Linked DNA regions of Homo sapiens: all the other regions are linked to region 1. The links are contacts of gene promoters, found by promoter capture Hi-C in blood cells and fetal thymus (Javierre and others, 2016). All regions are on one chromosome and are shown on one strand. Each heading gives the region's core, a stretch centred on a gene start or on the middle of the fragment in contact. The rest is flanking DNA. Distances are from core to core; before and after follow the strand shown. Region 1 holds the start of ABT1 (activator of basal transcription 1). Region 2 holds the start of TRS-TGA4-1 (tRNA-Ser (anticodon TGA) 4-1). Region 3 holds the start of TRS-AGA2-2 (tRNA-Ser (anticodon AGA) 2-2). Region 4 overlaps LINC02980 (long intergenic non-protein coding RNA 2980). Region 5 holds the start of H1-1 (H1.1 linker histone, cluster member). Region 6 holds the start of H2BC3 (H2B clustered histone 3). Region 7 has its middle 6.8 kb from the start of H1-2.

What was found. The method cuts DNA at HindIII sites, captures the fragments that hold promoters and counts their contacts. A CHiCAGO score of 5 or more calls a contact.
Region 2: a contact is called between a fragment that was not itself captured here and the fragment with the promoter of ABT1 in region 1, in 1 of 17 cell types (fetal thymus). The highest score is 5.5, in fetal thymus.
Region 3: a fragment that was not itself captured here is called in contact with the fragment with the promoter of ABT1 in region 1 in 7 of 17 cell types (M1 macrophages, total CD8 T cells, M0 macrophages and 4 more); the score reaches 8.2 in M1 macrophages.
Region 4: a contact is called between a fragment that was not itself captured here and the fragment with the promoter of ABT1 in region 1, in 1 of 17 cell types (neutrophils). The highest score is 5.1, in neutrophils.
Region 5: the fragment with the promoter of H1-1 here is called in contact with the fragment with the promoter of ABT1 in region 1 in 1 of 17 cell types (neutrophils); the score reaches 9.9 in neutrophils.
Region 6: the fragment with the promoter of H2BC3 here is called in contact with the fragment with the promoter of ABT1 in region 1 in 4 of 17 cell types (monocytes, neutrophils, naive B cells and 1 more); the score reaches 11.9 in monocytes.
Region 7: a fragment that was not itself captured here is called in contact with the fragment with the promoter of ABT1 in region 1 in 1 of 17 cell types (neutrophils); the score reaches 5.2 in neutrophils.

Annotation. Positions count from the first base shown.
Region 1 is chr6:26,595,420-26,598,336 of GRCh38, reverse strand. ABT1 (activator of basal transcription 1) reads right to left here and starts at 1,384. Exons shown (of 3, transcript NM_013375.4): 1 at 1,114-1,384; 2 at 227-423; 3 at 1-72. The coding sequence starts at 1,354. RefSeq lists enhancers at 1,096-1,535, 2,093-2,252, 2,353-2,502. The HindIII fragment of the contact is 8,276 bases long and covers 1-2,917 here.
Region 2 is chr6:27,504,730-27,507,646 of GRCh38, reverse strand. TRS-TGA4-1 (tRNA-Ser (anticodon TGA) 4-1) reads left to right here and starts at 1,738; the gene lies at 1,738-1,819. RefSeq lists silencers at 1,746-1,805, 1,384-1,815 and an enhancer at 1,926-2,005. The HindIII fragment of the contact is 677 bases long and covers 1,036-1,712 here.
Region 3 is chr6:27,476,825-27,479,741 of GRCh38, reverse strand. It overlaps TRS-AGA2-2 (tRNA-Ser (anticodon AGA) 2-2), which reads right to left and starts at 930; the gene lies at 849-930. TRD-GTC2-6 (tRNA-Asp (anticodon GTC) 2-6) reads right to left here and starts at 68; the gene lies at 1-68. RefSeq lists a silencer at 1-15. The HindIII fragment of the contact is 1,893 bases long and covers 494-2,386 here.
Region 4 is chr6:25,999,824-26,002,740 of GRCh38, reverse strand. It overlaps LINC02980 (long intergenic non-protein coding RNA 2980), which reads right to left. Exons shown (of 3, transcript NR_186645.1): 3 at 966-1,491. Among named protein-coding and RNA genes, the nearest start is that of LINC02980, 8.6 kb to the right of the region's middle. RefSeq lists an enhancer at 2,588-2,917. The HindIII fragment of the contact is 819 bases long and covers 1,079-1,897 here.
Region 5 is chr6:26,016,356-26,019,272 of GRCh38, reverse strand. It overlaps H1-1 (H1.1 linker histone, cluster member), which reads left to right and starts at 1,486. Exons shown (of 1, transcript NM_005325.4): 1 at 1,486-2,241. The coding sequence starts at 1,541. The coding sequence ends at 2,188. It also overlaps the pseudogene H3P26. RefSeq lists an enhancer at 2,294-2,917. The HindIII fragment of the contact is 5,921 bases long and covers 1-2,819 here.
Region 6 is chr6:26,042,224-26,045,140 of GRCh38, reverse strand. It overlaps H2BC3 (H2B clustered histone 3), which reads left to right and starts at 1,428. Exons shown (of 1, transcript NM_021062.3): 1 at 1,428-1,914. The coding sequence starts at 1,484. The coding sequence ends at 1,864. It also overlaps the pseudogene H2AC5P. RefSeq lists an enhancer at 945-1,184. The HindIII fragment of the contact is 16,277 bases long and covers 1-2,917 here.
Region 7 is chr6:26,061,820-26,064,736 of GRCh38, reverse strand. No RefSeq gene overlaps it. Among named protein-coding and RNA genes, the nearest start is that of H1-2, 6.8 kb to the right of the region's middle. RefSeq lists a silencer at 1-110. The HindIII fragment of the contact is 576 bases long and covers 1,192-1,767 here.

The sequences.
Region 1 (2,917 bases), core at 135-2,634:
GCGCTGCCTGCGCACCTGGCGCTCAAAGGCGAGGTGCTCGCTGAGGTGGGACCAGGTGAAACGGTGCAAGTACTGTGGGCAGAAAAGAAGAAAAGATCAGGATAGTGCAGATTAGGGAGAAAGATGAGACAAGGGGACAAGGCCAATGAGAGGCCATGGGGATACTTGGGCCAGAGTTGGGGAGAAGGGAGGGTGAGAGGTGTGGCAGAAAGATCTATCTTCTCACCTTGAGGTTCCAAAGATCATAACGGAAGGGGCTGCGCCTGCGGGCACCCATAGGCGTGTTGTGTAGACTGGCCGCCACGCGCTTGGCTATGCGCTTGTCACGGAACTCCACCCATCCCTCGGTGTAGTCCTTGGTGTAGGACCGCTTTTTTCCTCCGGCAGCTGCTGCTGCCTTCTTCTTGCGTCTCACGAACCGGTCTGCGCGCCAAAGACAAAGACCCGTCCAGGACGCCTATGCAGCACTCACTCAAAAGCACCTCCCACTGCCCGCAACGTTCTTCACATCTGCCAGTGGGAGTCCCACCTGAAGAGTTTTTGCCCAGGAGGAAGGGAACTGTAAATCGCACCCTTTCCTCTAGCTAACTCAATTCTTTCCTTAATTGTCCACTCCTTAATCTGGCCAGCCCTGAACGCTGCTTAAAACCGGCACAAGTCCTCAGCCTCAATGTAAAATTGAGGGTGGAAAGAAGAGGGGCGGTTGATCAAATAGTTTCTTGACCTAGGCAGCAATGCTAAAGAGTTATGTTCAGTTTTGTAGAAAAGCTGACGAGACTTTTACTCAGGTTGTATTCATGTAACAAACCAGTAAACAGGTCCGGAAAGAGAGGTGAACAGAGCCGGGATAAGAACACAAATAGTAACAATCCGAGAACTAAAGAACCACCAGACACACTGCGCTACCCACTCTCCCCATATCCCCTCCGCCCGCCCACCCCAGCATCCTCACAGACTGATTCACCAGCCAGGAGCCAAGCACCGCACTCCCCACCCCCAAAATCCAGCAACTCGTGCCTCAGCCTCGCGCAGCGAAGCAACAGGACATGCATGCTTGCACCCCGCCAGCGAGCGACAACCTCCTCCTGTCACCGTCAGGGCCTGCATACTTACCCTCAGCCTGAAAGAAGACGCGTCCGACCTCGCCATAGGCGCTGAGAAGGTTGCGGACGTGCAGGGGCCGGAAGCGCGGCGGGATATGGCCCAGGTACACAATACCTGGCACTACCCGTTTCTTGCTGCCACAGGCCGCTTCTTCGGATTCCTCCTGCTCCTCCTCCGCATCTAGTGTCTGTTCTGTCCCTTCCAGCGGCTCTTGCTCCGTTGCGGCCTTCTCCGATTCCTCTGCCTCCATGTTGACTGACACGAGCGGCACGACGGCCGTAAAGTGCCTTGCCAACTGACGCAAAACGCGTGCGACGGCCTGAGACGAGGGGGCGGGTCCAAGGTGGTGATGACAAATGAAAGGAAATGATTGGGCAATACAGTCGGGTCCAGGGGAAGGCCGAGGGGAGAGGGAGGAAGTGGTGTGTCAGGTCGGAAGCCTGATTCAGAGCGTGGAAGCGGGATGGGAAACTTGGGTTAGGCTCAGATTCCCGGTCAGATCTCCAACTCAGGACAGGCAGAACCAGAAAAGGCAGATCCCCAAATATAACCTACCCTATAGAACGCCTTGTCGAGACGCTAAAAGGCGGGTTGATGCCGGCTTTTTAGGGAATTTTGCAGAACAATTTTAGAGAAGTTTCTATGTGTTCTAGCGATCAAAATAGCATTTTATTCAAGGGCCCCGGGTGCGATTCCAGCTGAGGAATGACTCACCTTTTAAAGTTTATAAATTTCATTTAAAAATTTTGAGTTTTGAGGTTTTAACTATTTCTGGAAATTTACCTCGGAATTTTGAATATTTTAAAATTTAATTTTGAAAACAGTTCAACTTTGGAAATTTAATTAGATTTAATTTTTGAAAATTTAAGTTGTGAACTTTCAGTTTAATATTTTACATTTGATTTTGTGAATGTCTGAAAATTTAAATGTGTGACAATTATTTGAAGAATTTGTTTGGCATCTATTACACGTGTGTATTGATACATTATCCATATGCATACTTATGTTGCAAATACTTGTCAGAGGCGCACAAGCCTCCAATTCTGGCGACCCCCCGGCGGCGCGCTTATTTCTGCTCTCCCTGGGTCTGTCCTCAGATTCCCTATCAGATCACAAACCACTTTTCCTTCTATGACCTACGCAACCGCAGAACGGACCGGGCCACGGCGGTCCTGCTCCCACCAGGCGGCCTGCGGACCATCCCTAAGCCAAGCTCAGGGCAGTTTTCCCCGCGCGGGCTCGGGTCCTCAGTCTCTTATCGTCGCCCGAGGGCGCGACCAGCAGGGGGCGCCGTCCCCACCCTTGAGGCGTTTCAGTTCTTCCCATCGGCGCCAGCGACAAGCTGACTGCAAAGGACAGTGCTGGGAACCGCGTACAAGTAATCCGGTTAGCTTTCTGGAAGCAGCCCGGGGCGAGTTTGATGACTATCAACATAAATCCGTCCTTGCTGCGGCCTGACAAAATTTCCCATCTCGCTCCAAGAGCGCAGAGTAGCCCAGAGAATGGAAGCAGGGAGTAAATGTGTCCACTATTAAAATCAGAGATGACAGTTTTTGCCAGTCCCCAAGTATATTTCTAAAGTAACAGGGCCCTGCACTCTTTCATGGAGTGTCTAAAAGTCTAATAATAGACTTCTCGAATTCAAACACGCCTGTTTCATTAACTTTATTGAAGAGAACTTTCTGTCAGGTAGGTGTCCACTGCTCCTTTTTTGAAGAGGAGCGGGGTACGATGAGAGCGATAAACTCCGTCTACTGCTATTTAATTATAAACACTGACATCTTCAAAACACAGTACAGTTAATGAAATGAGA
Region 2 (2,917 bases), core at 125-2,624, 910 kb before region 1:
GAGGCTGAGGCAGGAGAATCTCTTGAACCAGGGAGTTGGAGGTTGCAGTGAGCCAAGGTCCTGCCACTGCACTCCAAGCCTGGCGACAGAGCAAGACTCCATCTCAAGGAAAAAGAAAAAAAGAAGTGAGTCACCATTTGCACGAGCTTCCTGGTGGAATGGAGAAGTGCTAAGGCAGCAACAGCAAGGATCTTGTTCCAAGAACATGGGTAAGGGAGCTGATTAGTTTCCTAAGACTGCCCTAACAAATTACTATAAACTGGGTAACTTAAAAAGACAGATTTATTCTTAAGATTTTGGCCGGGTTGGTTGTTTTCTAGGTGCTCTGAGGGAAAATCTGAGACCTCTTTCCTTGCTCCTGATGGTTGAAGAAAATCCTTGGCATTCTTGGTTTGTAATTGCATCACTCCAGTCTCTGCCTCCCTCTCAACATAGCTTTTGAACTAGTGACTATGTGTCTGTGTCTCTAAATTTCTCACTTCCTATAAGGACAGCAGTCACTGGATTACTGGATTTAGAGCCTACCTGAATCCAGCATGATCTTCTCTTAACTTGATTAAATCAGCGAAGACTGTTTTCAAATAGGTCACACTCACAGGTACCACAGGTTAGGATTTCAACATATCTTTCTGGGCAACACAATGCAATTCACTTCAGGAGCAACTGCCTTTTTGTCTGCCCTAAACGAAAATGCATGTGGGAAAACTGTATCTGCAAGAGAGTTCGAGGGTCTCAGGTGTAAAAGAGATTCTCTCGTTTGTATCTGAAAGTCTGTCTGAATCTACTTGGTGGTACTTTGGCCAAGCATTTCAATTCCCAGAACTCAAAGCTGTAATCCCTGAGATTCCCCATTAAAGAATAAACAATAAAAGCCTGGTTCTGCAGTGTTTTCCTGAACCAACAGTCTTTAATCCTAGGGGGTAAAAAGGTATTAATATAGCTAGATTTAATGTGGCATTCACAAGCTCTTTTACGTTAGGAGGGACAGACAATGTTCTCAAGCTGCAAAATTTTGGAAAACATGTTATCTAAGCTTCTCCATATTCCCCTGGCTCCTGGGACTGCCTGCTTCCCTCCCTGGGGAAGGTGAAAAGGAGTGAGTTTTCCTGAGAGGATGGAGACCTTCCCATCAACTTTTTCTTCAGAGGGTCCACGAGGGCTAGGTCTTCCCTGCCCCTTCTCATCCTGCACCCCTGCTCAAATTGGGTTTCAACGAATTCTTTAAGCCAGAGAAAGGACAAAGCAGTTCAAAGCTGTTGAAGATATTTCTGGTTTAGTATTCAATACTGAAAGCAAAAGCAAATGACTCCAAGGTCATAATTCCTTCAAATTTCCTCTAGCAGGTTTCCTGTGCTATTGTCATTTGAGGCTGTGAAGCTACTAGGATCAGACCCTCAGCTCCAAACTCCCTTTCTGCTGGTTTCTCACAAATACCTGTGAACAGGTGCATCAACCGTGACTAGCAAGTGGAGTTCTAGGGGGAGAGAAAATCCAAGTCTCTTGTCTCAGAATGCTCCTTTGAACTCCACTTTTCTCAACTGAATTCCAATTCAGTATGGATGACTTATTTCATCTAAAAGCTGGAAGCTCTTAATGCACCTAGAAAATTCTTTGTTACTAGACTTAGTAACCAGGCACCAAAACATCTTTTACTGTAGTATCTACTTACCATACTACCCAAGAATGGCACACTGCTCACATCTTCAAAAGCTTAAACCAAGAGCACTACACAGGTGCGTAGTCGTGGCCGAGTGGTTAAGGCGATGGACTTGAAATCCATTGGGGTTTCCCCGCGCAGGTTCGAATCCTGTCGGCTACGGTTTGGTTTTAGCCTGACTTCTCCCAAATAGTTTCCTTCTAATTGCACCCCAAAGGCAACTGAGTCTCCTGGATTACAATTGTGTCATCTCCTTTGGTAACACTGCGTTGAACTCTGCATTCTAGCTGTCATCATCATTATTAACCCTGCGTTGTAGTTTACCTCTTTCTCTGAGTCCATTACTTTCCTCCTCCTCCAACATCCGAGACAACCGTGTCTCGAGTAAGAGAGAATCTATTGCTGTGGTGTAAACACCACCTAACGTTAATCCTGATTTGAGGAAGGCAATTCTCTTTTCCTCACCTACAAGCTCTGAGAATCGAAGTCAGACTCCATCGAGTTTTCTCTGTAGATAAGTCTAAGTTGCTTGTCTGGTGTGTGAAGATTTTGCCTATAGTGTATTAAGTGTTTTGTTAGCCCAAGTTTAGGGACTGTCATTCAACAGCAACAAGGCATTACCTGTTTTGCAGCAATAACAATGATTGTGATTGTAGCTTCAATATAAATTCGTTGGTTTGTAGACAGTACCACACACACTGTATCTTCTCGGCCTAAAAATTCGAGAGCCCAAGAATGGGAAAGGTTTATTAAACCACAGGAAGTGGATGTTAAAGCTAGCCTCTGGCTGCCAAGCCCTTATTATTTTTATTCTATTGATTTTGTTAAATGTCTTCATCTTACAGCTTAGAAAAATTCAAGGTGAAGTTCTCTGGCCCCAGTCTATTCTTCCTATCTTCTCCAGCACATTCAAAGACCAAGAACACTTATCTGGGCTTTACAGTAGATTCAGGAAACAGTGTAACTTCAGACACTCAGTACTTTGGTTCTCATACAGAATAAAGTTGGGAAGAAAAGGTCGAGGGAGAAGACGAAAAGATGTGGAAAAACAAGAAAACGGAAGAGAGGAGAAAGGCCAGGAGATTGAAGGAATGGAACAAAAGAGAAGCTAGCAGGGTGCCAAATATAGGAATGTTCTCACCCCTCTTGCCCACTTTTATTCTGAGTTTCCTCTGTCTTAGCAACCCCTAAATGCCCTTGCTCTTGCTCTGACAGGCAACTTTCCACTATCTCCACTCTTTGAAATCAGCCCCTGATGTC
Region 3 (2,917 bases), core at 191-2,690, 880 kb before region 1:
CCGTCGGGGAATCGAACCCCGGTCTCCCGCGTGACAGGCGGGGATACTCACCACTATACTAACGAGGAATTGACGTGAAAATGGAGCTCTTAGGAAATCCCTGTGAAGTTACTCGCTATTGTCCATCTTTCTTTGCTCTGTAGTCACACGTTTCCCCTACCAAATATACGCAAGGCAATTCAGCGAACGTGTCTCCGCCCAACCGCGAATCCTCTCCAGTTCCTCCTTCATTCCTCGGACGCTTTGTCAGACCCTTTTAAAAAAGAACTCTCGCTAGCCTCCTTTGTGACGCACTGGTTTCCGTCTATGTTCAACCATGGTTGGAGCCCTAGCTAACATAGGAGTTACAAATCCCGAAAGGTGCATCGGTTGGTTTCAAAGACAGGAAAAGCAGAGGTGGGACCAATACCTGCGCTCCGTTGAGGTAAAATAGATAAAGAGTCTGCAGATGTATTTTTAAAGTTCAGGATGCGTCAAGTGGCACGCAGAAGCTTTATCACGAGTTCCCTCGCCCCCAAACTGAAAGCAAATATGACATCGTATTTCCTCTCTGAAGTAAATACGATTCCTCTCTGTTCTCAGTAAAACATCCCGAAGTCGGCAAAAGTTCAGGCTGCGTTAAGTGGCACGCAGAAGCTCTATTACGAGTTCCTTTACTCCCAAACTGAAAGCAAATATGACATCGTATTTCCTCTCTGAACTGTTCTCAGTAAAACATCCCGAAGTCGGCAAAAGTTCAGGCTATGTTAGGTGACACGCAGAGGCTCTATCACGAGTTTCTTTACTCCCAAACTGAAAGCAAATGTGAGATCCTATTTCCTCGCTGAACTGTTCTCAGTAAAACATCCCGTAGTCGGCAGGATTCGAACCTGCGCGGGGAGACCCCAATGGATTTCTAGTCCATCGCCTTAACCACTCGGCCACGACTACACGAATGGAGAAGGCTCCCTTCACATCTTTAAACAGAATTTACACCAGCTAACTGACAAGAAACGGTCAAAAGAACAAAATACGGTAAAAATGGTTTCCTGGGCAAGAAACTGGAGTCTGCGAGTTCATTAGAAACTCTAACGTGAAGTGCAAGTTGGATAAGACAAGCCAACCTCTCTGGGGCAGCCGCAAGGAGTCCTTGCCCTATCAGCAGTACCGTTTCCAGAAAACTAGAGACCACTGTACCTCTCTCACCTGGACCCAAACTGACCCCGCAAGGAAGTGGAATCAGACCCTCACCGTAAATCTGGGCCTGACACATTTAGTTTTTGTTTGAAACTTCCTCTCATTGAGGCTCCTTGATGAATGCTAATGGCTTTCAAGAAGGGACTAACTTTTGATTTGTGTCTGAACTGGAGGGCCAGAAAATGATGCAGAAAAGCCTACTTGCACTTTCTTGCTCTGATGAGGTCCCTAAGTCTCTAGGCTCACACCAACCCAAGGGAGTATATCTACCCGGTCTCGTTTGCACGGCATTTTGCATTTCACAATGCGCTTCCACGCTTCAGTTGGGTTAAGAAAGAAATTTATAGATTGTTCATGAGTTCCCATGGAACCAGGTTACCTATCAAAAGGAAGATCCTACTTTGATTTTTGGCCAAGGCAGACGCTCCTTCTCTCAAAATCTAACCCACGCAGTATGTTTTCTTTTCCTCTTATGCTTCCGTCTTGAAGTCTAAAGCTGCCGGTCCTGGAGTTTCCCTGAGCCCTTTGGATGCACAGATTATTGTAATTGGCTTTCATCTACTTCTTGGAACCATATACTAATCTAAGAAAAGAGGGAAACAATCGCAAGCTAAGAAATCATGTCGACTAAGTAGATAAATGAGGAAGAGGGACAAGAAGGAAGAGGAAAAGAAGAAAGTGACCAGAAAGGAGAAGAGAGAAAGGAAGGAGGGACAGGAGGTAGAAAGAAGAGGATGAAGGAGAAAGAAGAGGAGGAAGAGGAAGAGGAGAAACGAAGGAAGACCGGGAAGGGAAGAGACAGAGATTTTCTGAGGACCCTTGTTAGAGCTCAGAAAATGATACCCCAAAGTATGGCTCTTGGAAGTGCTGAGTACTTTGAACTAAAGAAGCAACCTCAGAATCAAAGTCTCTCTGACCTTCCGCAGCCCCACTGCCTCCTGATCCTCTTTCTTTCTTGAATGGCAGGGAGGGGCTTTCACTGAAGTTTCCCTTATTTGACTTACGGAGGTTCCTCCAGAAGGAAAGAGATTGTCATGAACCCTCTCCTGGAATCTGTATTAACCAGAGAAGATTAACTCAGATCCCAGGAGAGAAAACTAAAGGTCTCCATGCCCGGGACATCTCGCCCAGCCAGACTTCAATTCTTTTCTTCACCACCTATTCTGAGGGCTGCTACTTGAGAGACTTTATCTGTATAATAAGACAAGCTTTGTTCCCAGAGCTGTTCCTGCCCTGACCCTCACATTGCTTCTCGCCACCACCTTCCAGGAGCCTTCAAGCTCCTATTTCTTTATGTAGCTCCAAGTCCTATTTAAGCTTCAACCATCTGCCCCTTCTTTGAGTCTCACTTACACTTTCTGGGACCTCTGTGCATATGTGCATAATAAATGTGTATGCCTTTTCTTCTGTTAATCTGTCTACTAGCAGCTTTATTTCTCAGACTCAAATATCCAACCTCCAGAAGGGAGAAAAAAGATTCTCTCACCCCTACAGGCTCAAAAGAAGACTAAAAGAAATTCACTAGTTTTATGGAAGACCATAATTTGAGGGAATAGACATGAAGCAGTTTGATGGGGTAGCCAGGTGTCCATACAAATATAAGTTGTGCTATAGATTGTTGTTCATAGTTAATGCATATCACATCCTTTTTATTTGGTGGACATATTTTTATCAAGCACATCTTTATTTTTTTTTGCTGAAATCATTTGCAACTCCAGCTTTGAATAAAGTTAGATACCAA
Region 4 (2,917 bases), core at 239-2,738, 600 kb after region 1:
CAACTCCTGACCTCATGATCTGCCCACCTTGGCCTCCCAAAGTGCTGGGATAATCACTTTTTATGCTGCATAATTCTTCAGATTTGTCAGTACGACTGTATTTACACTCATTTGTTTTATTAGAAAGAATTCCAGAATATTTTGGCTGCCCTAATTAATTTTACAATTAATATGATTTTGAAATTGGGTATTGGCTCCTTCTGAATTGGTTTATTAAAATATATTCTAATGTAATTTATGACATTTTCATCATATTAGCATATTTATTCTGTTAGAATTTCATAATTTATAAAGCTACAAACTGTATGTGATATAGCTTGTAACTTTATCTCATAACTTTATGCAGTTACAAGTAGAAATAAAATGTTCCCCTCAAGATTGCTTAAAATTTTATTATAAACAAGTGTAAAAAACAAAATCACTAAAACACTCCCTCTTTTTTCCCCCAAAATGCATGTTTCCATTTTAACAGAACCCGTATTTAATCAGCAGATTTCTATGGTGGCTAGATTTGTAGACTAAATATTAAAAGTCCCAAAGCAAATGCATTTTTCTCTTAAATTTTACTGACTTTTTTTTTTTTTCTTTTTCTGAGACGGAGTCTTGCTCTGTCGCCCAGGCTGGAATGCAGTGGCACAATCTCGGCTCACTGCAACCTCCGCCTCCCGGATTCACGCCATTCTCCTGCCTCAACCTCCCGAGTAGCTGGGACCACAGGCGCCCGCCACCACGCCCAGCTAATTTTTTGTATTTTTAGTAGAGACAGGGTTTCACCGTGTTAGCCGGGATGGTCTCGATCTCCTGACCTCATGATCTGCCCACCTCAGCCTCCCAAAGTGCTAGGATCACAGGCATGAGCCACCGCGCCCCGCCTACTGACTTTTATCCAAAGAAAATATAAGAGCTCTTCATCATAACGTATGTTTCTTGCTCTTGTTATTAAATATGACACATTTAGACTTAAACTGATTTGAAGGTTTATGACATTGTTTAAGTTATTACATAATTAATTCATAAAGATAATGACTAGTTTGAACTACTGACAGCTCACACATCATCAGTTGAACAGCAGAAAGCTTACTAAGCTACTTTCTTATGTTTCTGTCTCCCAGCTACTAAAAGAAACGAAACCCTTCCAGGTGTTAAGGCAAAACTTTCCTCCCCCTTTCTTCTATAAATCTGATTCCATGTTAGTGAAATTTCTACTGATGGCTTTGGTTTCCTCTATAGTAGAATAGAGATCCTATGGCAAAAGTCATGTCTGACATGGTAGCAAATAGAAATGGGGAAAAGGAAGGTCTGCAAGAGCCAATGTGGGAAATGGGGAGAGGACTGACTACAAAAACCCAGCAGGAATTCCAGAAGAAAACTCCTCAGGACGGGCACATTGGCTCATGCCTGTAATCCCAGTACTTTGGGAGGCCGAGGTGGGCAGATCACTTGAGTCCAGGAGTTTGAGACCAGCCTGGTCAACATGGCGAAACCTCATCTCTACAAAAAATAAAAAAATTTGTCAGGCGTGGTGGCATGCACCTGTAGTCCCAGCTACTCAAGAGACTTAAGTGGGAGAATCACTCGAGCCTTGGAGGTGGAGGTTGGTGAGCCGAGATCACGCCACTGCATTCCAGCCTGGGCGACAAAGTGAGACGCCATCTCAATCAATCAGTCTCCTCGAAAAGCAACATTATGGAGAGACAGGATTCCGTCAAGGCCTGGGGCACACAGGAAAATATTAAGGCAGAAGAGAGTTTCCTCCCCACACCACACCGTATCCCACAGGCACTGCGGATGTGCATATGCAAGAGGGGTTGATCCTAAGAATTTAGAGTCACAGAGGAGGAGGCACCAAGCAGACTGTGGAGAAAGTCATGACCAGAAAGGGACAGAATGTAAAGCTTCAGCTGATTATCTGGCCTCAGGGATTCCAGAGGAACTGGTCCCAATGGTCTCCTGGTGATGTAGGTTCTTAGGTTTCTTTTACAGGGGTTTTCTGGGAGATCGTTGACCCAGTTAGCATTCAAGCAACTTCCACCCTGCACTTTTATTCTTTCCCCTTCACCTGCTTAGGTTTTATCTGTCCAGGAAATAATAATAAAATTATTGAGCCCTGGACATGTACCTGTAAAGCTCCTTAAAGATGATGCCTTCTAACTCCTCATTCAACAGATACAAAAACATTACAATAAAATGACTCATGCAAGACACCCAGGTAGTTTATAGCAGCTAATAAAAACAGAATAACTATAAAATATGGTAAGTTTATAAAAGTTACATTGAGTATACTTTATAAGAACTGCTTATTGAGTTTGCCTAATAACCACACAGCACAATAATAATATGTATATATTTTTAAATATGTGTAAATATGTGTAACACAAACTTGTAGAAGGTATATCTGAGTACAACCCTATTCTGTTTGGTTACCTTTTCTAGTTCATTATGTAAGTGGCATAGCTACCTAAGGACTTATGCTTATAAATGTTACTCAAAAAAATACAGAGGACATATGTGGATAGATAATGGAAGAGATAAGATAGGTAGGTTGAAGGGTTGGGCTGCCCCTCCACACCTGTGGTTGTTTCTCGTTAGGTGGAATGAGAGACTTGGAAAAGAAAGAGACACAGAGACAAAGTATAGAGAAAGAAAAAAAGGGGTCCAGGGGACCGGTGTTCAGCATACGGAGGATCCCACCGGCCTCTGAGTTCCCTTAGTATTTATTGATCATTATTGGGTGTTTCTCGGAGAGGGGGATGTGGCAGGGTCAAAGGATAATAGTGGAGAGAAGGTCAGCAGGTAAACACGTGAACAAAGGTCTCTGCATCATAAACAAGGTAAAGAATTAAGTGCTGTGCTTTAGATATGCATACACATAAACATCTCAATGACTTGAAGAGCAGTATTGCTGCCAGCATGTCCC
Region 5 (2,917 bases), core at 237-2,736, 580 kb after region 1:
CACTAAGAAAGGTTTATATCTTTCACAAAGGGTTTACTTACAAAAATCTTCCAATTTTGTATACCTGTGTTTCATAACTGACTAGCCGTCAAACCAAGATGTAGAGTTTCCAACCGTTATTTTCCAAATTTTTAGAAATTACGTGAAATATTTGAATGCATGCCTTCTCAATAAAATGGGACGTAGGAAGCACTGGTGCAGAAGATGGGTACAATACTTATCTGGGACCACTCCATTATTTGGTTGGCACGTTGTTTGAACAAAAAGGGGAAAAGCTCAGGTTACTTAGCATGGTTCGGACTTATTTGAAAACTACCACAGCAGGAGCGGAAATAAGACCGCATTACCTCACTCTCTGCTGTGCTGTGCTAGGGGGTTATCCAGAATAGGATTGTAGAAGTGGATGTCGATTTAATAGTTTTTTATTCTCCCATTAGCTGAGTCTCTGATTGGCAATGTGAGATCGTTTTAGCTTATTGATACTTTGAAATGCACTTAACAGCCACAAACAAGTTAAAGGGTTGTTACCATAAAATCTTATCCCCAGGGTGTGCTTGCATTTATCACCCGTGTTTGCTTTCACACTAAGTGGACTTAACTCCCCAGCAGAATGCCTGTCAGGGAACCGGTTTCGTGGACCCAGCATTTAACGCCTTTCGCAGGCTTGTGAGGCCCATAAATATTTGTTGAATAAAAGAATGAGTTGACCATGTCATGGTGCGCTGATTGCGTGTGCTGACATGGAACACAGGTTGTAAACCTTAATACCAATTTGGGGCATGTTGTATGGATGAAAAGGGCATTGGAAATTCCTGAAGTGCATCCCACATTGGACTGTGGAAATAAGTTGCAAGTGCAGAAACGTTTCCACACTTGCAGTTTGAGTATTAATTGCAGCGTTTGTGAATTCTGGTGTTGTCTACGATTCATTCTTGTTTGACGTGAAAGGTATTCGCGAGACACATCGCTCTAAAACATTGCCAGAAAATGTAATAGAGTTGATGACAACTGGCCCTAACACGGCCTAAAACTCGCACTTTTCTCTCCCTCCGCAACTATTCAAAACACTGTATTTTACATTTCTTGCAAATTAAAAACTAACATCTCTGGCAACGGACCTCTAAAAATTTCTAATAAAACTCCTCGGATGCTTGTGGCACTGCATTTGTAAACCGCCCCCTCTCAACCTACTCCCTAAAAAAGAGCTGCTTTTTGAGAGAGAAGCGGTACCCTCTGATGTTACTGGGCGGCAGTCTGCCTACAATTTCCTTCACAATGAGGCAACCAGAGCGGCTTTTTCTGTGTGTTTGCTTGCGTTGAGGGGAGCAGGACCATAGGCCCTAGAGGCCCCCAGCTGCCTTCTGAGACTGGGCGAAACCCTCGGCAGCGCGCAGGGGGCGCTAGGGCGCGAGGGGCGGGCACTGACGGGCACCAATCACGGCGCAGTCCCACCCTATAAATAGGCTGCGTTGGGGCCTTTTTTTCGCATCCTGCTTCGTCAGGTTTATACCACTTTATTTGGTGTGCTGTGTTAGTCACCATGTCTGAAACAGTGCCTCCCGCCCCCGCCGCTTCTGCTGCTCCTGAGAAACCTTTAGCTGGCAAGAAGGCAAAGAAACCTGCTAAGGCTGCAGCAGCCTCCAAGAAAAAACCCGCTGGCCCTTCCGTGTCAGAGCTGATCGTGCAGGCTGCTTCCTCCTCTAAGGAGCGTGGTGGTGTGTCGTTGGCAGCTCTTAAAAAGGCGCTGGCGGCCGCAGGCTACGACGTGGAGAAGAACAACAGCCGCATTAAGCTGGGCATTAAGAGCCTGGTAAGCAAGGGAACGTTGGTGCAGACAAAGGGTACCGGAGCCTCGGGTTCCTTCAAGCTCAACAAGAAGGCGTCCTCCGTGGAAACCAAGCCCGGCGCCTCAAAGGTGGCTACAAAAACTAAGGCAACGGGTGCATCTAAAAAGCTCAAAAAGGCCACGGGGGCTAGCAAAAAGAGCGTCAAGACTCCGAAAAAGGCTAAAAAGCCTGCGGCAACAAGGAAATCCTCCAAGAATCCAAAAAAACCCAAAACTGTAAAGCCCAAGAAAGTAGCTAAAAGCCCTGCTAAAGCTAAGGCTGTAAAACCCAAGGCGGCCAAGGCTAGGGTGACGAAGCCAAAGACTGCCAAACCCAAGAAAGCGGCACCCAAGAAAAAGTAAATTCAGTTAGAAGTTTCTTCTAGTAACCCAACGGCTCTTTTAAGAGCCACCTACGCATTTCAGGAAAAGAGCTGTAGTACACAGATGAAATCCCCCAAGCAAATGCAACACGCCCTCAATTATATTAGAATCACTTGGAGAGTCGATAGAACTTTAACATAGCCTCATCTAGTAAGAATTTACTACTCAATCTATCAAAGATAGCAAGGTGAATTCAAATGCACCGAGTTAAAATCGAGTTTTAAAGTCACCTGGGTTTCGGTAGCCGGAAGTCCCGCGTCTCACGACTCCAAGCTAATTAGTCATAACCGTATTGAACCAAGGTTGAAGCCCAGTCCCAGGCTTGAGGCTTTTTATTATACAAGGTTAAAGTGGGGATATTGCGTTTTGGGGTCAATATTGCTAAAGTAGCATTTTCCGAAATTGGGTGGTCCTAAGAAATGCTTCTGGGATAGTTGGCAAAATATATGGCTTAACCACGCCCTCTCCACAGGAGTGGCTAGCGAGCTGTCTGTCCTTGGGAAGGACGGTGACCCTGCTGGCGTGGCTGGCGCCCACGTTGGCGTCCTCTGAAAGCCCCGCCAGGTAGGCCTAGCTCGCTTGCTTTCTGCAGCGCCATCATGACAAAGCTTTGAAACGCAAAATGCTTTCTTTGTGCAGCGCCTTACCATGGGTGCACTTACGGGCTGTCGACTTGGTTTAGGCCCTTGTCAGGACAAAGGAGCTTAG
Region 6 (2,917 bases), core at 179-2,678, 550 kb after region 1:
AACAAGGTATCTAAGGATTTTTAAAATGTAAATTCCGATTCAGTAAGTTTGAGTGGGACTTGAAATTCTGCATTCCTGACAGTCTCGCAAGTTATCAATGCTGGTGAACACTCACTAAACCACCAGAAACGTTCAGACTCATGTCGGGAAATAACGCTTATATTCAGAGAATGAGATTCCATGCTATTTTGTTACTGGCGAACAGCAAGTTTCCTTGCCCTTTGTTTTCTAAGTCCAAGTCACATTCCCACCCTGCCTGTTCTCAAAATGTCTTATTTTGGTTGGCCTTAAGTTTCACTTTGTATACTCTAAAATGTACTTTCTAAAGGAAGGTGTTATTTTCTCGAAACTTAACTTTTTAACACCATTAGGCTAGGGGGGCGGTGGCTCACGCCTGTAATCCCAGCATTTTGGGAGGGCGAGATGGGACGATCACTAGAGGCCAGGAGTTCAAGACAACCCTGGCTAAAATGGTGAAACCCCGTCTCGCATAAAAATACAAAAACTAGCTGGGCGCGGTAGCAGACGCCTGTAATCCCAAGTACACAGGAGGCTGAGGCATGAGAACCGCGTGAAGCGGCGGGGTGGAGGTTGCAGTAAGCCGATATCGCGCCGCTGCACTCCAGCCTGGGTGACAGAACTAGACTGTCTCAAAACAAACCAATCCAAACGAAAAGCAAAAAATACCCTAACAGAAGCAAGTTATCATCCTTTCTTGTGTAACTATGGACGGCTCTGAAAAATGCCGTTTCAAGTGTAAGCTACGTTTTCTGATTTGAGTGTTTACTTGACCTTGGCCTTATCGTGGCTCTGTTATTTTGGCAACAGGACGGCCTGAATATTGGACAGGACGCCTCCCTGAGCAATAGTGACGTTGCCCAGCTGCTTGTTGACCTCCTCGTCGTTTCGGATGGCCAGCTGCAGGTGGCGGGGGATGATGCTGCGGGTCTTGTCACGTATGGCGCTGCCCACCAGTTCTAAGATCTCGGCGGCCAGGTATTGTAAGTACACTGGCGCACCGGCTCCGACCGGCTCAAAATAATTGCCCTTTCGAAAAAGATGACGGACTCTGCCCTATTGGGAACTGCAAGCCCGGTAGCGACGAACAAGTTTTTGCTTTAGCTCCATTTTCCACGTCCGCAAATAGCGACCTATGAAAGCAGCGGAAAACTGTGAAAGACAAGCAAGCTGGAATGGCGCCTGAACAAATCCTTTTATACAAACTGCAAGGCTGCAATAGGAAGCTATCCTATTGGTCAATTATGTTTGGTGCTTTATCCAATAGAAAAAGATAACATAAATTCCATATTTGCATAAACCCCACCCCTCAGTGAAACCGTGTTTCTTTTGTCCAATCAGAAGTGAGGAATCTTAAACCGTCATTTGAATCTCAGGACTATAAATACATGGGCTCTGAACTGTTCTCTGTACTACTCTGTAGTGGAGAGTGTTAGTAGCTTTTCTATTCTGTTTAGGAATAGCAATGCCTGAACCCTCTAAGTCTGCTCCAGCCCCTAAAAAGGGTTCTAAGAAGGCTATCACTAAGGCGCAGAAGAAGGATGGTAAGAAGCGTAAGCGCAGCCGCAAGGAGAGCTATTCTATCTATGTGTACAAGGTTCTGAAGCAGGTCCACCCCGACACCGGCATCTCATCCAAGGCCATGGGGATCATGAATTCCTTCGTCAACGACATCTTCGAGCGCATCGCGGGCGAGGCTTCTCGCCTGGCTCACTACAATAAGCGCTCGACCATCACCTCCAGGGAGATTCAGACGGCTGTGCGCCTGCTGCTGCCTGGGGAGCTGGCTAAGCATGCTGTGTCCGAGGGCACTAAGGCAGTTACCAAGTACACTAGCTCTAAATAAGTGCTTATGTAAGCACTTCCAAACCCAAAGGCTCTTTTCAGAGCCACCTACTTTGTCACAAGGAGAGCTATAACCACAATTTCTTAAGGTGGTGCTGCTGCTATTCTGTTTCAGTTCTAGAGGATCAACTGGAATGTTAGCGAAGACAAGTTTTAGAGCCAAGGTTAACTTGGACGGGGCCGTGCGCGGTGCCTCTTGCCTTTAATCCCGGCAATTTGGGAGGCCGAGGCGGGCGGATCACGAGGTCAGGAGATGGAGACCATCCTGCTTAACACGATGAAACCCCGTCTCTACTAAAAATACAAAATAATTAGCTGGGCGTGATGGTGGGCGCCTGTAGTCCCAGCTACTCGGGAGGCTGAGGCAGGAGAATGGCGTGAACGCGGGAGGCGGAGCTTGCAGTGAGCCGAGATCGCGCCATGGCACTCCAGCCTGGGTGACAGAGCGAGACTCCGTCTCAAAAAAAAAAAAAAAAAAAAATTAAAAAAATATGAAGTTTTGAAGCAGAAATTATTTTGTCGTATGTTCTTTCATAAATTTTTTGCCTGCCTGCCTTCTTCCTTTGTTACAGAACTCCAACACTTACCCAAAGGTAGCTGTTGGGTCAGGGTTTCTGTACTATAGTCCCTTCTGTGGTGGCCAGAAATATGTTACAGGAAAGAGGTCCCCATCCAGACCCCAAGAGAGGGTTCTTGGATCCCGCGCAAGAAAGAGTTCAGGGTGAGTCCGCAGTGCAAAGTAAATGCAAGTTTACTAAGAAAGTAAAGTGGTGAAACGACAACTACTCCATAGACGGAGCAGGACATTCCCGAAAGTAAGAGGAGGAAGGCATCCACCCTAGGTACAATACTTGTATATATGGGGAGATGTGCTCTGCTACAAGTTTGTGATAAAGGATTAATTTTCTTAGTTACTATATTTTGCAAGAATCAACATTATTATCTTTAAACAAAATTAAGAATGCCTTTGTTCTCCAGATATAGGGATATCTGGACACTCCTAAGTCTGAGTCTGTTTAGTAAACATTATTTATTTGTTCCCTTAACCGTAAAC
Region 7 (2,917 bases), core at 230-2,729, 530 kb after region 1:
TTCGTGGTTTTGACTGCCACCTAGCGTACATCAGAAAAACCGCATGACATAGGAAATGCCTGTGACAGAGGGGTAAGGTGAGAGAGGTTGATGAAGAATGTATTGAAGGAGTGAAAACGCTTCCATCCCTCTACTTACTAAATATATTAGTTAAGTAGTTGGGGCATATTTTAATTCATGCATTTTGTAGATAGAAAAACAAAAGTTTTATTCTGTTTGATTTAGTTGATACTTTAATATGTGTGTGTTTAGGATGCATGATTTATAATCAGTCTGCAGCACTTCTTGGAGAAGTCTGAATTCTCATTCTCCATTTCCTTATTGGCAACGTGAGAATGATTACAATGGTGGTTGTCTCATAGAATGCAGGGAGTCAGAATGAAAATAGTCCATATAATGCCTGGTGCAGAGGAAGGGTTCAGTTAACTGTCTGTATTAATATTACTGATAACAGTCATGACAAACAAAAGCTTAACAACAACACCACCAACAACAGTTGCAGAATTGAGCCACCAATTTGCACACAAGATTGTAGGTAGGATGTTTTAGAAAAGTTATTATTTAATATATGTATATATTTTTGTACTTAAAATATGTCAGAGGTTGTTCTAAGAACTATTTAAATGTTAACTCCTTAATCCTCATAATGACCCATGAAACAGGTAGGCTTATTATTGTCTCTTTACATGTGAGAACACTGAGACACGAAAAGGTTTATTAACTCACCCAAAGTCACACAGCTGGTAAAACGGCAAAATTGAATTTGAACTCAGACATTCCAGGTTCCAAGACAGTCTAATTATTCTTTTGACTAATATACTAAGCTGCCTCTGTATTTTTCCTTGATTACTTTGTAAAAGTATGAGGAAAATATAAGTGCTTCAAGTAACCATGAAAAATATAAACAATCTATGTATCAACTGAAGCATAATTACAAATCCTTTGATAAGCAAACATAATAAAAATTTGATATCAATCAAAACTTTCATGTAATGTAAGCAGGTTGAGATGAATTCTATAGTAAAAAAGTGCAGAGTGCTGGAATACCATGCTCCTAATATATTGGCTAGGCACACCTGCCTGCTATCAAAGGTATGCACACACCTTGGATACAGAAAGTTGGGACTGGGTAGTTATGTGAGTGTCATCAGAATTCTTTCCCACTTGGGAAAGAATTGTCCATCATAAGCTTGGATGATGGACAAGGAGTGAGCTCCCAGAACAGTGATGTGGGGATACATCCTCACATCACAGTGAGAATGAGTGTTCTAGACTGTTTACACACCTACCACTCCTAAATGCACACATATAATTGCTTGCACACACACACATACACACTCATCTCTTCTCTGGTGGTCCAGCTCTATCTCTTATCATTAGGCTTCTTGGGGCTAGTACCTAGGGCCTGTATCCTTTCAGAGGCAGCTAAGGGAAGCACACATAATTAGAAAGAATGAACCAGCTTGTTGGATTTGGTCTCTTCGCATCCAGCCCTCCAAGTTAAGGAGAGTACCATCTTTCTTAGGGTCACCAAAGGAAAAAAAAAAAAAAGAAAGAAACAGAAGGATATCATACAGCAAGGATCTAATGCAAATATGCCTCAAATGAGAGGCTACTGTGTGCTGATCCCAATCCCAGGAACTGTATGCACATTATCTAATTTAATCCTCACTGTATTTCTGGGAGTATTATTCCCATTTTACAGAGAAGGAACTTGGCAGGGTAACCAAGCTCATGAATGGAGAAACTGGGATTAAATATAAAGCTTCCTTGCTCCAGAACTGCTGTCTTTCTGCTCTTCCACACTACCAGCTCAGCTGTGCTCTCTACATGCAGGCAGTTTTACAAGTTTCAGATTAGCCTGGGACTTCCAGGGTTTTGAATGGGTTAGGGAATGGGGAACTTTTGGGTTTACTTTCCATTTTTTCTTCATACATATGTAATATATAACATAAATCTATGGTATATATGATAAATATATGGCTACATATGAACTATATAATCACATATATGCATTATAAATAAATATTAATTTTATAATATTTTAAAGGTTATCAAATAAATATTAATATAAATAATTAAATAATTAATACTCAGCTTTGTTTTCCAAAGTGATAAATGCCTATATTTAGCAAAATATTTTTTGGAGGCCTGATAGTTTTTAGGAGTGTAAAGAAGTCCTGATATCTAAATGTTTAAGAACCACTATTTTAGGCTGTTGTCTTCTGTCTTATTTTCCCAGCTAGACTGGTAAATACTTGAAGGCAAACGTTTAGCCAGCACATTAACATTTTATGTTTTTATTCTTTTGTGCTCTCAGTGGCTGTGTCTTTTCTATCGATTTCTCACACTGTATGATGGTTATATTTGTCTGTATCTGTCCCACCAGGTATAAGTTCTTGAGAGGACACACTGCTAGGCTGATCTTAGTTTTTATTATTTCTCCTGGTGTCCTGTGCTTAACAAGTGCTCATTAAGTGTGTAAAAACACAGCACAGTAAAAAACTAGACATTAAAAAATAATGTCAACCAATCTATTGAAATTTGCATTTCCATGTTTCTTCCAATATAGTCATTGTGTCAGGTTATGTACTTATTCTGATGAAGACTATTGCCTAATATACGTTTGCATCTTGTGCTTTATAACTGCCTTCATATAGACACAGATTGAGAAGGTGTAAAAATGTGCATATCCTCACAATTGACAAATTCTTATCCTTTGAGGGTAGGTTTGACTTTCTGAAATGCTTTGACATCATTTGAAAGAAGCTTGAAGAATAAGATAGCTGTTAATGACCCAGTTTCCTATGTCACTTATACAATTATAATGGCAATTTCAAAATGTTAGGTAAATATATTTTGCAATATATTGTTCCTTTTGTAATACTCTCTATGTATTTATTTATATTTTTAAATT